2 separate regions of the Homo sapiens genome follow, and region 1 is linked to region 2. Evidence: promoter capture Hi-C in 16 types of primary human blood cells and fetal thymus (Javierre and others, 2016). All regions are on one chromosome and are shown on one strand. Each heading gives the region's core, a stretch centred on a gene start or on the middle of the fragment in contact. The rest is flanking DNA. Distances are from core to core; before and after follow the strand shown. Region 1 overlaps DENND3 (DENN domain containing 3). Region 2 holds the start of GPR20 (G protein-coupled receptor 20).

The links. Contacts are between HindIII fragments. The CHiCAGO score rates a contact against its expected background, and 5 or more counts as called.
Region 1: a contact is called between a fragment that was not itself captured here and the fragment with the promoter of GPR20 in region 2, in 1 of 17 cell types (neutrophils). The highest score is 6.1, in neutrophils.

The regions. Positions count from the first base shown.
Region 1 is chr8:141,182,322-141,189,547 of GRCh38, forward strand. DENND3 (DENN domain containing 3) reads left to right here. Exons shown (of 23, transcript NM_001352890.3): 18 at 2,818-2,957; 19 at 6,665-6,825. Among named protein-coding and RNA genes, the nearest start is that of DENND3-AS1, 56 kb to the left of the region's middle. RefSeq lists enhancers at 241-350, 1,111-1,160, 1,241-1,380, 2,081-3,035. The HindIII fragment of the contact is 3,747 bases long and covers 1-3,124 here.
Region 2 is chr8:141,361,858-141,369,394 of GRCh38, forward strand. It overlaps GPR20 (G protein-coupled receptor 20), which reads right to left and starts at 5,429. Exons shown (of 2, transcript NM_005293.3): 1 at 5,344-5,429. RefSeq lists an enhancer at 6,192-6,741 and a silencer at 7,106-7,288. The HindIII fragment of the contact is 50,298 bases long and covers 1-7,537 here.

The sequences.
Region 1 (7,226 bases), core at 1-2,500, 180 kb before region 2:
CCAAGAAACCCAGGAACGCGATAGACCCTGGCTGAGTGAGCAGGCAGCGTCATCAGGGCCGCCCCGCGTGAGCCCTACCTGATGTGTCTAAGCCAGGCTCTGTGCTGACTTCGCCAGAGATGACTCCACAGACCAAGATACTTTGACCGTGGCATTTGAATACATGGTATTTTTAGGTCCCGGTTGGTTTCCCTGAAATGAAACTCACTCTGAGCTTCCTGTTGTGACGGGCGAGGAGTTCAGGCGGCTTCCCCTCCAGGAGCATCTCGAAGGCCTGCAGAGAGCGTGCAAAGCAGCCGTGGGGAATGGGGAAACCGCCTTTTCCTGTGGCTGCCGATTCTGGAAGGGGTGGCCGAGAAGCTGGTAGCCGAGCAGGGCTTTTGCAAGCCTTGTGAGATTGCAGGGACAAGAGGTGGGGTCAGGCCCCATCAAGAAGGGGGAGTCTTGTTATTCCCATTAGCTTGGGGCTGGGTCTCCGACAGGTTCCTAGGAGTTAGGAGAACCAGCCCTGAGGCCAGGCCACAGGTCAGCTCAGGCTCTGCCCATGGGGAGCGTGCCTCTCAGAGACGGCAGTGTCTCACCCATGGGAGCAACAGACCACTGGAATCGCACCCCAGAAAGACCGGGAGGCCTGCCCTTCTGGACTCAGGACGGAGGCAGCACTGCAGGGCGGGGGGTCGCTTGAATATCCTCAGGGGAAAGGTGAAACCTCGCCCCTTCACACTGCCCTGCGGTCAGGCCCAAGGGGGCCGAAACCTCAACGCGGTGGTAAAAGGCAAATGTGAACAATGAAAGCAAGCAGACTTCTAGGTGATAGGGTAGAAGAATATTTTCATGACTTTATGGTAAAGAAAAAAATGCATAAATTATATATAAAATACCATAAAGGAAAAGAATGTTGAATTTGACTATATTAAAAGCAATGACTTTATTATTTTTATTTTTTCTGAGACAGGGTCTGACTCTGTCACCCAGGTGCAGTGGCGCGATCACACCTCACTGCAACCTCTGCCTCCTGGGCTCTAGCGATCCTCCGCCCTCGGCCTCCTGATTAGCTGGACTGCAGGTGCACACCACTATGCCCAGCCAATTTTTGTATTTTTTTTTTTTTTTTTTGTAGAGATGGAGTTTTGCCGTATTGCTCAGGCTGGTCTTGAACTCCTGAGCTTGAGCAGTCTGCCGGTTTTGGACTCCAAAGCGCTGGGTTAGAGGCGTGAGCCACCACAACTGGCCAAAAGCAATGATTTTAAAAAGAAGACACTTTTTTTTTCCTCCTTTCAAATGAGCTGGTTTAATTCACGGTGACACAAAATTGAGGGTAGAAGACCAAAGAGCGCCCTCTGGCAGGCTCAGGTGGGAATGACGGGTGAGAAGCCACTGAAGACGTCCGGTGACACTGTCAGTTTTTTGTTTTGTTTTTTTTTTTTTTTAATTTAAAAAAAAAAAGAAAAGTTTATGCTTGAAAGTGCAACAGGCTCCAGGGCAACGCTCACTCTAGCTGAAGATGGCAAAAGCTGTCCTGGCGGGGGTGCAGGTGTTGAAACAGGAGTGGAGTCCAGGCCGCCACCGCCCAGGCAGAGGGAGCAGCGTGCTTTCCGCCAGGGGTCTTAGTTCCAGCTGTGGCTGGGCCTCCCTGCGGCCTGTGCTTTCGGCCCCTTGAGGTTCTGGTCTGTTTTGCTTTCTGCTGGAAGCCTCATCATCTCTGTCCCTCTCCTGGGCCTGCTTCTTGGGCTGTCTCAGAGGCTTCTTGCCATCTTCATGGCCGGACACGGCGCCTACAGCCTCTTCCCCAGACCCTGCCACAGGAAATGGACAGAAGACACTTTTGAGAGGGTGAAAATGTAAGCTGCAGACTGGGAAGGATCTTTAAAATGGGTGCTGCTAAAATCATTGCTTTTAATGTAGTCAGATTCACCAGTCTTTTGCTTTATGGTATTTTTATATGTCATACGTAATTTATGAATACAGCACCATGGAGTCAGTTAGGGGCTCATATCCAGAACACCGGAACAGCTGGCCGGGCGTGCCTGTGGTCCCAGTGAGGTGGGAGGGTGGCCAGAGCCCTGGACTCGGAGCCTGTGGTTTGCTGTGATCGCACCTGTGAACACTGCTGCACTCCAGCCCGGGCAACATGGCAAGACCTCGTCTATTAAAAAGTAAAAAAAAATAAAAATAAAAAAAAATAACAGCCACAAACTAGGGAGAACGAAAAACAGACACTTCCCACAAGAGGGCATGGGGATGGCCAGTTCAAGCCATCAGGCTCATTAGCAATTAGAGAAATGCAATTAAACCACAATTTAAAAGCCAAAAGCTCCACACCCTTAGAATGGCCGAAATTAAAAAGATGGACGGACGCCAGCAAGTGTTGGGAAAGACGCGGAGCCCGCTGCACATGAGGGTGTGGGGGGCACCATGGCCCCTGCCGCCGTCTCTCCAGCTGCCCTCCCTCCCTGCCTCCCTCCCTCTGTGTCCACCTGCTCCTCTTCCAGTTCCCTCTGCCTGGCTGTTTCCTCTAGTGAATGCTCACTCAGCTGGCAGGTCCTGGCTTAGCAAAGCTCACAGGCATTCGGCTCTGCATCTGCCTGCGGCTCTGACCCTGTCTTTGTGGCCCTCTCACCAGCCAGCTGCCCCCCTTGACTCTGAGCTCCCAGAGGGCAGGGAAGCCTCTGCCTGGGCACGTCTTTGTACGTACAGCACCTAACATGGGCCTGGCGCTTAGGAGGGCCCAGGAGGCACCTGAGTAAGGGCACCAGTCACCTGCTGCTACAGCAGAAGTGTTTCCTCCTAACAGTTTTGTGCTGCTCTCCTCTTTAGGGCATCTTGACCCAGCCGAAAAAGTTGAAGATGCTCACCCCAAGTTATGGTGTGCTCTGAGCGAAGGCAAGGTGACCGTGTTCAATGCTTCTTCATGGACCATCCACCAGCACTCCTTTAAAGTGGGCACTGCAAAAGTGGTGAGTACACGAAGCGTCAGGAAAGAAGCCTCTGAATTCACGTGATTTCTGAAACCCAAGTGTGTTCATCCATATTCGACAGTAGGATACAAGCTATTCCACAGCCTCACTCGGTTTCTGTAAACAGGGGGTCTTAACTTTCACCTGGAGTTTTCAAATTAAATGTAAGCTTGTTCCAAACTTCTACTTACACGTCCTTATTGAAGGAGAAGATAATGGCTTTGACTTTCTCATCTAAAAACAGATTTCAGGCCCCCATCTAAAAATAGATTGCAGGGGCTCACACCTCTAATCTCAGCACTTTGGGAGGCTGAGGTGGGTGGATTGCCTTGAGCCCAGGAGTTTGAGACCAGCCTGGGCAACAGAGTGAGACCCCATCTCTACAAAAACTACAAAAATTAGCCGGGCATGGTGGAGCGTGCCTGTAGTCCCAGTTACTTGGGAAGCTGAGGTGGTAGGATCGCTGAGCCTGGGAGGTCGAGGCTGCAGTGAGCCAAGATCGCGCCACTGCACTCCAGCCTGGGTGACAGAGCCATACCCTGTCTCAAACAGACAAATAATAATAATAATAAAATAATAAAAATCGACGTCAGTTCTGTGAAGTGGAGCCATTGTGGTCTCTGCCTGCTTATTACAGGCTTCACACACTTTGGGAACAATTTCCTTCTTTTTTTTCTTTTTTGAGACAGGGTCTTGCTCTGTTGCCCAGGCTGGAGTGCAGTGGTTCAGTCATGGCTCACTGCAGCCTCGACCTTCTGGGCTCAAGGGATCCACCTCGGTCTCCTGAGTAACTGGGACTACAGGTGCATGCTACCATGCCTGGCTAATTTTGTATTTTTTGTAGAGATGAGGTTTTGCCACGCTGCCCAGGCTGGGAACGATGTCTTCCATCCTGTACTGCAGCACTAAGGTTCCCAGGGACCAGGGCCTTAAAATGAACCTGCAGTGTTTCCTGGGAACCCTGGTGTTTCCTGGTGGCACAGTGGTTACTGGGTCTCTTTTGGAGCAAAAGAGGAGACAGCTGCCTCTGCAGTGACTTCAGTGTTATCCACCTGTCCCCACGTGCCAGGTGGCAGAGACCAGGGCCCAGCAAAACTCAGTGTCCACTCGTCACACATTATTCCTCTCACTTAGAGCAAGCTTGTCCAACCTGTGGCCTGCAGGCTGTACGTGGCCCAGGACGGCTTTGAATGAGGCCCAACACAAATTTGTAAACTTTCTTAAAACATATGTTGAGTTTTTTTTGCAATCTTTTTCCTTCTAGCTCATCAGCGATCGTTAATGTTAGTGTATTTTATGTGTGGCCCAAGACAATTCTTCTTCCACTGTGGCTCAGGGAAGCCACAAGAGTGCACACCCCTGATTTAAAGCAAGTTTGAATTGTTTCTGATAATTTTAAAACAAGTGCAACTGTTAATACATTTTTAGTAGTGTGTCCTTGGCAGTGCCATGGTGTGTCGCTTCTTCCATGACCATGGTATCTTGAGTGTGGAAGCTGGGATTCCTGCCCTGCTCATCCCTCCAGGCCCCCAGCGGCCCCTCCTGCCTGCAGACCATCATTTCTTGGGGATTTTCCCTGTTTGCCCGTCAGCGCTGTGAGCTGCCCCTCCCTGCGGATCTGTGTGCGCTTCCCTGTCGCCCGAGAGGCCGCTGAGTAGCTCCCCGTGCTCTGAGACCCCACACTCCCCCGCACCGTGGCCTGCGCGCCCTTTGTCCATGTTTCTCCTGTTCTTGCTCATGGATTTGCAGATGACGTTCACATTTAAATTGCATTTTATAGTTTTCAAAATATTTTCGCATCTACACTCTCCTCCTATCTGGTCACCCTCCAAGCAGCCACCCCATCATGGGATCTGCTGAGAAATCCTCATGCCTTACTCCTTGAGCATGATAGGATTTTTTTTTTTTTACATGTTTAATGTGAAAAGAACACTCCAGTGGAGTATATACCTAAGTATATATTAGGCATTGGCTGGTACCATTTTTTTTTTTTTGACAGGGTCCCTCTCCCATTGCCCGTGGCTGGAGTGTAGTGGCACAATCGCTGCTTACTGCAGCCTGGACCTCCCGAGTAGCTGGGGCTATATAGGTGCGCACCACCACACCCGGCTAATTTTTGTATTTTGAGTAGAGATGGGGTTTCACCGTGCTGCTCAGGCTGGTCTCAAACTCCTGGGCTCAAGCAGTCCTCCCGCCTCGGCCCCGCCAAAGTGCTGGGATTACAGGTGTGAGCCACTGCGCCCGGCCATGGTATCAGTTTTGATGGCTGTGTTCCCTTGTCTAAAAATAATGTGGGAAAATCCGTGGCACAGTATGTGCTTGCAAAACTGCTATAAAACAAATACTGTGAACTCAAATACATACCACCAAGAGGGTGGGACCACTCTTGAGATACCTGAATAGCAAACTTTACATGTTAGAAGGTAATAAGAGCCTGCTAAATCATTTCCCCCCATATTCAAATCATGAGCCTCAGATGATAAAGTAATAGGATCCATGATACAGTAAAAATATTGACAAAAGTCTAGTAATGCTTTAAACCAAACAACAAAAAAAGGAAAAATTAGGGAAATTATTTTTCTAAATTTAATTTTTTTCAGTTCGTTCTTAGTTATAAGCATTTCAAGGCTGGGCGCAGTGGCTCACGCCTGTAATCCCAGCACTTTGGGGGGCCGAAGCAGGAGGATTGCTTGAGTCTAGGAGTTCGAGACCAGCCTGGGCAACGTGGGGAAACCCTATCTCTACTAAAACTGCCAAACATCAGCCAGGCGTGGTGGCATCAGCCAGGCGTGGTGGCATCAGCCAGGCGTGGTGGCCCATGGCTGTAGTCCCGGCTACTCGGGGGTCTGAAGCGGGAGAATCGCTTGAGCCGGGAGGCTGAGGCTGCAGTGAGCCATGATCATGCCACTGCACTCCAGCCTGGGTGGCAGAGTGAGACTCTGTCTCAAAATAAACAAACAAACAAAAATAAAAATTCTGATTTCAAAGAGTCTAAAAGCAATCATTATGTTGACTTTGCTTAGCTTAGACAGAAACCCTGAGCGCACTCTCTAGACACTGGGAGCACTGCCAGTTCTGCTTGTTCACATACAGTCGGTCTCATCATTTGGAGATTCCGTATTTGCAAATTCGACCACCTGCTAATATTTACTTGTAACTCCCAAAACAGATACTCGTGGTATTTTCTTGGTGATCCACAGACATCCACGTGCACAGACGGGGGAAAAACTTGAGTCACCTGATATGGATTTTCTGGGCCAACAAGTGTCCTCTCCTCGGCCTGATTGGTGCCACAGTTTTCACATTTTTTGCTTTTCGTTGGTGATTTTGCCATTTAAGAAAGCCTCAAGCATGGAGCTCCCTAAGCACAAGGAGGCGGTGACGTGTCTTGCAGAGAAAATGCATGTGTGAGATGAGCTTGGTTCAGGCCGCAGTGACAGTGCTGGCGGCCGTGGGTTTCGTGTTAATGAATCAATCATACGTAGTCAATAAGGTGTCTGTGAACAGAGCACGCGGAGAACAAGGTTATGCACTGATGGGTGGATGACAACGTCAGGGCCAGAGGCTCCCAGGACCCTGAGCCGGCGTGTCCCCTAGGAGCAGTGGTTCCATATCCGCTAATTCAGCACGTGCAGTAAATGTATAGAATATGACTTCACCAGTATCGAGACTGACTGATTTCTCACGTTCCCGTGGCCTCCTGTTAGAACTGCATGGTGATGGCCGACCAGAACCAGGTGTGGGTTGGCTCGGAAGACTCCGTCATCTACATCATCAACGTCCACAGCATGTCCTGCAACAAGCAGCTCACAGCCCACTGCTCCAGTGTCACGGATTTGATTGTGCAGGACGGACAGGAGGCACCCAGGTGCAGTAAGCTCTGCTGGGGAGAAGGGACTGTTTGGCTTGTGGGTGGGCAGAAGGCACAGCGGGTAGGGTTCCCAAGTCTTGTGCCCACAGGGGCCAGGCGGGGCGTACAGAGTGAAGTGGATCTAGAACGAGGAAAGCTGGGTGGTGTCCTCGGTCTGCTTCTGCTCACGGGTGCGGAGAACCCATGACACCAGTGTGGGCCAAGCGTGGTGATGAAGGCACCACACCCGGCCTTCCTGCTGAGCTTGCTGTGGGCACTGTGGCATGGGGCAGCCCCGAGAGGGCACAGCCTCCCAGAGGTGCACCAGCCATGGTGTCAGAAGCCTGGACTCGCCTGATAATCGCCTGAGTGCTCAGTGTTGGCCTTGGGCTGCCTGTTCGCTGCTGTTTCCCACAGTG
Region 2 (7,537 bases), core at 4,179-6,678:
CCCAGAGCCCCCACCCCTCCAGGTGGGCACACCTCCCAGAGCCCCGGCCTTTCAAGGCTTCGCTGAGCTCCTCCAGGGGAGGGGGCAGAGGGTGAAGGAGGATGTCCCTCATGCCCTCCCCGTAGGTATCACATCACAAAACAGCCGTCCTAGGCGGGGCTGCCGCTGGGTTGGGGGTTCTCCCTGGGAGGGGCCTGAGGCCTGGACTGCTGGGCAGGGCTGGGGATGTGCCTCTCCAGTCACTGCACCTGACTGATGCTTCTGCAGGCGAAACTACTAGCGGGGCCTAAACACTCCATGCGCCCTCCAGGCCCAACCCCAAGCTGTTCCTGCTCTCTCCCTTTCGGCTTATTCATGCCCATTTTTAGGACTTCCCCCTGGACTTGCCTCCTTAAGGAAGCCTTCTTCCTCCCTGGGCTGCCTCTCTCTGGTGCATCCTCCCAGGGCACCCTGCGCTTCCTCAATCCCAGGGTTCATCCCACGGCGCTGCTATGTGCTGCAGGCTTCCCTGTTGGACTCTGAGCATCTTGAGGCGGGGCTGTGGGTGGGGGCTGAGCTCCCATCTGTTCCACCAGCCCAGCACCCAGATTGGCCTGGCAGAGAGCAGCACCCGTCTTCCCCCTTGTCTGAATGAACGCCCTGAGCAAGCCTCATCAGGGCTGGCAAGGTGTGGCCTGGTTTCTCAACCTGGCATTCAGGGTGAATGCCACCTGGCCTGGCCCCCTCTGAAACCTGCCTACCCAGTGTCTTGGTACTGGTCTGGAATTGGCTTCCACCCCCAGCCCCATCGTCACTACCCATGAGTCCTCCCAGCCGAGCAAGGCTGACACCTCCTCCCGGAAGCCCGTCCTAATCACTCTGACCATTGTGTCCACACTTACATTCCTTCCCACCCTCTATCTCCCATCACCACTCTTTCTTTCTTTCTTTTTTTTTTTTGAGACGGAGTGCTGTGGCGAAATGTCGGCTCACTGCAACCTCCACTTCCTGGGTTCAAGTGAGTCTCATGCCTCAGCCTCTGGAGTAGCTGGGATTACAGGTGCCCGTGCCACACCTGGGTAATTTTTGTATTTTTGGTACAGATGGGGTTTCACCATGTTGGCCAAGGTAGTCTCAAACTCCTGGCCTCAAGTGGTTTGCCCACCTTGGCCTCCCAAACTACTGGGATTACAGGCGTGAGCTACTGCGCCCGGCCCCATCACCACTCTTGATAGCAATGGTCTTTGGTTTGCAGGCCAGCTCTACCACCCGCCACCTTCGAGGCCTCGGGCAAATCATTTCATCACTGGGAGCCTCAGTTCCCTCACCTGGGACTTTGGGAACCATATTTGTTGAATGAATGAATGAAATCAGGCAGGGTGGCTGGACTAAGTGAGAAATACTGCAGACACCCCCAACATGGGAGGCGTGCGATATAAGAGCACGGGAGGCTCCTGGTTTTGGCACCTGGATGGGGCCCTGTGTGGACCAGCCCGCTCACACGTGGGGAGAGGCCAGGGCCAACACGTGTGCTCAGTGCAGGACTTCTCAGAGCCTTTGTGAAACTCACGGTCCTGGGAACTTCCAAGGGGTGGGAGCGAGCATCGAGCATGGAAGCTATTTGACCCTGTCCCCTCCCTGGGGGTTCCTGCTCCATCCATCCCAATGGCCACACCACTAGTCCATGCCCAGAGCACTGATGGGGGCTGCTGCCTCCCTGCCCTCACCCACAGCTTGTTGAATTTCTGCTGGGCACCCGGCCATGGAAGGCCAGACCCCTGGGCTTGGGGTGCTGGCACCTGCCCAGAGGCCTCCAGCGGGGCACCAGGGTCATGCCGGCCTCCGTCCTTGGCCGGTGGGTGGGGAGGGCTATGTCCTCTCTTCCCTGGGCTCCTCTCAAACCCACCCCACCAACCTGGGAGTTCTCTCTTGGCTGCCCAGCAGCCTGTCTGCCTCTGTCCTGCCACATGTGAGACCAGGCAGCAGAGTGGCCCCGGCCCCAGGGCAGCAGATGGCCCAGGGTGGCTGTTGAGCCTGCCTGGGGGTCTGGCTCAGGACCCTGTGTGCTGTCTGTGGACGTGTGGAGGACGGGCCCAGCCTTTTCCCCACAGAGGGGCTCTGAGCACCTGCTAAGGGCGCTTTGCATCCACACAGCAATCCCAGGTTTTACAGATGAGGAACCGGAGGCCCAGAGGGGTGAGTGGTGTCCTCACGGTTACCCAGCATGGAGCTGGTGGGGCTGGGAATCAGACCCAGGTCCACTGGCAGGACCCGGCACAGGCCGGAGTGGAGCAGAGTGCGGGCTGGGGAGCAGAGGGGCTGGATTAGGCATCTCTGGACCGGGAGTTTGTGCACAAGGGGATTCTCCGGGCCCTGAGGCCGCATGTGTGACCACGGGTCTGTGTGTGCTTGAGCCTGCACCCCAGACGGCGTGGCCCTCATGGCCTTCCAGGGCTAAAATAGCCATGATTCGGGGAACTGTCTGCCTGTTTATTTTTATGATTATTCTTGGTTTCACAGCATCTGCTTTTGAATATCATCTGCTGTTTTTGATAAGTCTGAGCCTCCGTTTCTTCCACCAAGAGGCAGGTGGGTGCTTGCTGAGCTCTCCAAATGGGGTCAGACTCACCCCAGGTCACCTAGCAAGTCCCAGGTGACCCTGGCCAGAAGCCAAGTCTTTCTCCCTGTCCCCCACGCCCACAGGCCAGGGCTCCCTCCACCCCAGTGCAGAGAGAGACGTCACTGGTGGGCACAGACTGAGCTCTGTGGGGAAGGACACCTGGGCCCCATCTGACCCGACTCTGCCTCAGTTCCACCAGCTAAGAGCCCTCTTGCTGAGACTGCGGCTCTAACGGAAACACCAGTGTCTCTGGGAGGGGCATAGCCAGTTGGAGGTCCTGCATGTCACCTGCCAGCCCCTCCCTGCCTCCCCATCATTGGGTTCATTGCTCACCTCTAGCTGGGTGTCTCTGGGAGGGGCATGGCCAGTTGGAGGTCCTGCGTGTCACCCACCAGCCCCTCCTTTCCTCCCCATCACCGAGTTCATTGCTCACCTCTAGCTGGGATAGCCGTAGCTGCAGCAGCTCCTGAAACCCCTCCCCAACCTCAGCCTCTCCAGGAGCTGCTGGGACAGGCATTCTGTCATGTGCACCTGCCTGGCCTCAGCCTGGTCCTTCCGCCTGAAGCTCCTCAGCCTGGTCCTCTCAGCCTCTTCCCTCTGCATGTGCTGTTCCTTCTGCCCGGAATGCTGTTTCTCTCCCTGTGCCACCTGGTGAAGGCTCCGGGCACCCACAGTCATTGTTCCACAGAGCTCTCCCTGAGCCCCTCTGATGCCCTAGTGCCCTGGATGCCCCTGCCCCAGGGGGAGAGCTATGATCCCACAATCTGAAGGGCACCCGCTGGGCTCATCCTTCCCAGGGTCTTATTGACTTCCCTCAAGATGCCCCTGGGTGGGTGTTTCTGGCCCCACTGTGCCTGTGGGGAACCAATACAGAGGGGCTAAGTCATGTGTCCGGGCTCACCCAGCTGGGGTGCAGGAGGGGCTGAGCTCTGCCTCAATCTGCCTGCTGGCACTTTGTCCCAGTGCCTGGGATCAGCCTTCTGCGGCACCCAGCCCTGTGTGTGGAGGGAATCAGAGGCCCCAGGCCACACAGCCCCGTGCAGTTTGGAGGTGTCAGACCAGGACTTAGACCCCAGCACTGCGGGCACAAATGGGTCCCAGGCAGACCTGGCCCCACCTTTCCGAGCTGACAGCTCAGGGTAGGGTGGGAGGTGGCTGGTCACGGCCGGGATGGGCCTCAGGACAATCAGAGGGAAGAGCGCTCCCGGCAGCAGGAAGGGCACAGTGAGCATGAAGGGCCAGAGGTGGGAAGGAGAGTCTGTGTTCAGGGCTCTGTGAGACACCGGGGGCGTGGGGAGGGCTTTGGGACGTATGGTGAGGGGATCAACTTAAGGTTCTTTGGGCCCTGACGCCCCTCCTCAGGGAGGCCCTCCAGAGCCCACAGCCCCGCACGCCTGCACCGCCTGGCTTCCTTCGCAGTGCCCTGCCACGCGCAGTTCCCTATGTCCCTGCTTTCCTGTTCGCTGTGCTTCCCTCACTGAACTGGAGTGCCTCAGGGGCCCTGGCCTTGGCTGGCCCCTCTGAGTCACTGAGTCACTGCTGAGTGATGGAGTGGATGATTTTAGAATACCCCTCTGATCTCCTTGAGCCTCAGTTTCCTCATCTATAAAGAGGAGATGCTAATACCACTTAACAAGAAGACAATGAAGCCACCCCGTGGGCTCCAGGAGCTGCTCAGAAATGGTCCAAACTGCATGGCCCCCACGCCCGGCTCTCCAGCCGCAGACCCCGCCTTTGCTGATGGGCCCACACCGTGTGGCTCAGAGAGGGGCAGCGACTTGCCACGGCCACTCAGCAGACCGCCCTGGAGCCCAGCGACTGGATGAGTCCTGGGGGGAGAGGGGAGGGAAGACCCAGGATGACCAGCTGTTGAAGGAAGAAGACAGGGCAAGTGGACAGGCCCAGCCTCCTGCGGGGTGCATTCCCCGTCCTGCGAGGTCGCCAGCTGCTCCACGTCTGCCCCGCCAGCACCCTGGCTGCTGGCCAGTTCCCAGCCCGCTGCCCCCTCGGGACCCTGTCCTGCCGCCTTCTCACAGCGCAGTCCCAGTGCGAGCTTCGCGGGGCTGGAGCCAGCTTCTAGGTCCACACTGAGGGCTGGCAAGCAAGCCTTCCCTGGGACTCAGTTTCCCCACCCCTAAGGGGTAGAGACAGCACCAAGGCTACTGCAGAGGGCCTGAGCTGTGGGATGGCAGGACGGGCACTCTGAAGAGGGAGCATGGCGCTTGGAGCCCATGCCCACAAAGCCCTCACCATGGCCCTGCCCCAGCTGCGGGGTGGTGGTGGCTGAGGCCCCAGAGCCTGCCAAGTGCCTCTGGGGTCCCCCAACTCTGTCCCTGGCTTGGCCTGTGGGCCACCCTGCTGCCTTGCCAGGTGGGGAAACCAAGACCCAGCTCTGGGCACCCAGCAGATGCTCGGTGAGTGTTGAACGGAGGGATGAATGAGTGAATGAATGAAATCCAGAGTTGGGTGGGCACCTAGCAGCGCAGCTCCCCCTTATGCAGCCAGCCCAACTCACGCCCATGTTCTCCCTCAGGTCTCTGTTTTCTCATCTGAGAAATGGCTCCCTGTCCAGCAGGACCTGCTCTGAGCTCTCCCCAGCCCGGATCTGGAGGCAGTTTCTCTGCCCTGCCCTTCCCACTCCTGCTTGGCTGGGGGTGAGAACCCCTGCAGGGAGCAGCTCAGGAGCCTCCTATCTAGGGAAGCTGGGGAGAGGGAGGCTGGGGCCAGCCCACAGGGGAACTTACCGCGCTTCACCCGGGCAGGCTGGAGATGGGAGTCCTCAGCTCTCAGCTCTGCATGCAGCCCGGACCTCGCCTTCCTACGGCCTGACGTCAGGCCAGCGCTTGGGGCTCCTTTTGGGCAAAGGCAGGGTGGGGGCGGGGCAGGCTCCTTCCCCGCCCCCAGGAGGAGTCAAGGCTCAGAGCCTGAGGGACGGTGCCTGGGGCACCAGAGTCCCCACACCCACTGGAGACAGAAGAAGAAACCGAGGCACAGAGGGGCCTGGGGCACCAGAGTCCCCACACCCACTGGAGACAGAGGGGGAAACTGAGGCACCGAGGAGCTGAGCCTCAGCTGCACCATCCAGGAGGTGGTGGCTGGCACTTGTGTGTGCCGTGTGCAGGGCAGGAGGTGGGAAACTGAGGCACGGAGGGGCTAAGCCTCAGCTGCACCATCCAGGAGACAGTGGCTGGCACTTGTGTGTGCTGTGTGCGGGGCAGGAGGGGGAAACTGAGGCACGGAGGGGCTGAGTCTCAGCTGCACCATCCAGGAGATGGTGGCTGGCACTTGTGCGTGCTGTGTGCGGGGCAGGAGGGGAAAACTGAGGCACAGAGGGGCTGAGTCTCAGCTGCACCATCCAGGAGACGGTGGCTGGCACTTGTGTGTGCTGTGTGGGGGGCAGGAGGGGGAAACTGAGGCACGGAGGGGCTGAGTCTCAGCTGCACCATCCAGGAGATGGTGGCTGGCACTTGTGCGTGCTGTGTGCGGGACAGGAGGTGGGAGCACACGAAAGCCCAATTTCCTTCCCGGGAGGGGGCATGTGCATGGTAGCTTCAGCCCACGCAAGCCTGGGTTCCTGCATGGCTCTCTGTTTTGCATGTGTCCTGGGTTTGGCTGTGTCTGTGTGTACCCATGACCGACAGCCTGCACACCTGGCATCTGGGCCTCTGTTTGCACCCATGCACCGGTGGCATGTGGCATGTGGGGTCAGGTGTGTGGGAAAGACCTGGACGTGACCCAGGCCAGCAGGTGGGGAGAGCGTGTGGGACCCGGACCTCAGTGCTGGAGGAAGCGTGAGCTCATCAACAGGCTTGATCCCAGAGGGCTGCTGGAGGGCCACTCTCCCCAGACAGCTTCAGAGCCAGGAGGCCTTGTGGCCAGCCTGGGGTGGCAGCGGGGGTTGTCGGGGAGCGGTTGGGGCCATTTAGTTAGTGTCTCCTCTGCCGAGAGCACCATCTCCTCTTGTTCCCATCCCGTGTGCTTCTGCTGATACTCACACTTTAACCTTCCAGCCGCCTGAGTGCCGAGGCCCTGCTGAGTGGGTTGTACTGCACACCGGAGACTCAGGGAAGGCTCCCCAAGGGAGGGGCTGGGCCTTCCCGAGCTCAGGCTGGTTGTAATGCAGACCAACAGGAGAGAGTAGGTGGGCCCTAGGGTCCTGACCCAGCCTGCTGGGGAGGGATGCCGTCTGGGAAGGCTTCCTGGAAGGGGCAGAGGGAGGTATAACAGGAGGCAGGCAGCCCAGATGGGCAGAGGGACAGGAGGCCATCAGAATATTTCCTGGGGAGCAAAGCTGGGAGTGGGCAGGGGACTTCTACACTGAGTCTCAGCAGCCTCTATGGGTACCAGAGTGCTGCAACAGGGAGCCATTGAAAGTTCTGGGAGAGGATGGTTTCTTCACTCTGGAGCAGCCTCCCTGCGGCTGCAGGGCTGAGCCCACAGGCTGCAATTATCTCCTTTAGAACATCGTTGTGTCTGTTTTAGCTGGGGAAACTGAGGCCCAGAGAGGCACAGGAGTCTCTGGCCACCAGCCTCTTGCACCTCTCTGGACCAGGACTGGCTCCTGGCAGGCAGGGTTTCACCGGGCTTGTGGAAGGTGGGGGTGGATGCAATGTCATTTTTGTGTGGGGGTGGCCTGGAGGCAGCCCAGATTGGGCAGGGCTGGAGCCAGAGGAGGCTCAGATTTCCTGAGCAGGCGAGGGTGGCTGAGTCACCGCACCAGTGCCAGGCCTCATGCCCACCTCTGAGGGCCTGGGGCTCCAGCCTTGCACTCTCAGGCTTGTTCTCAGAGAAATCTCAGAGACGGTCCCCCAGCAAACAGCGGGGAACTGCCTGGGGAGGGGTCACAGCCCACGCCAGCCTCCCTGACTCCTCCCCCAGGGAGACTCTTCTCAGCAGGACCCAGGGATCCTCTTGGGGGGACACCAGGGATGGGGGTCC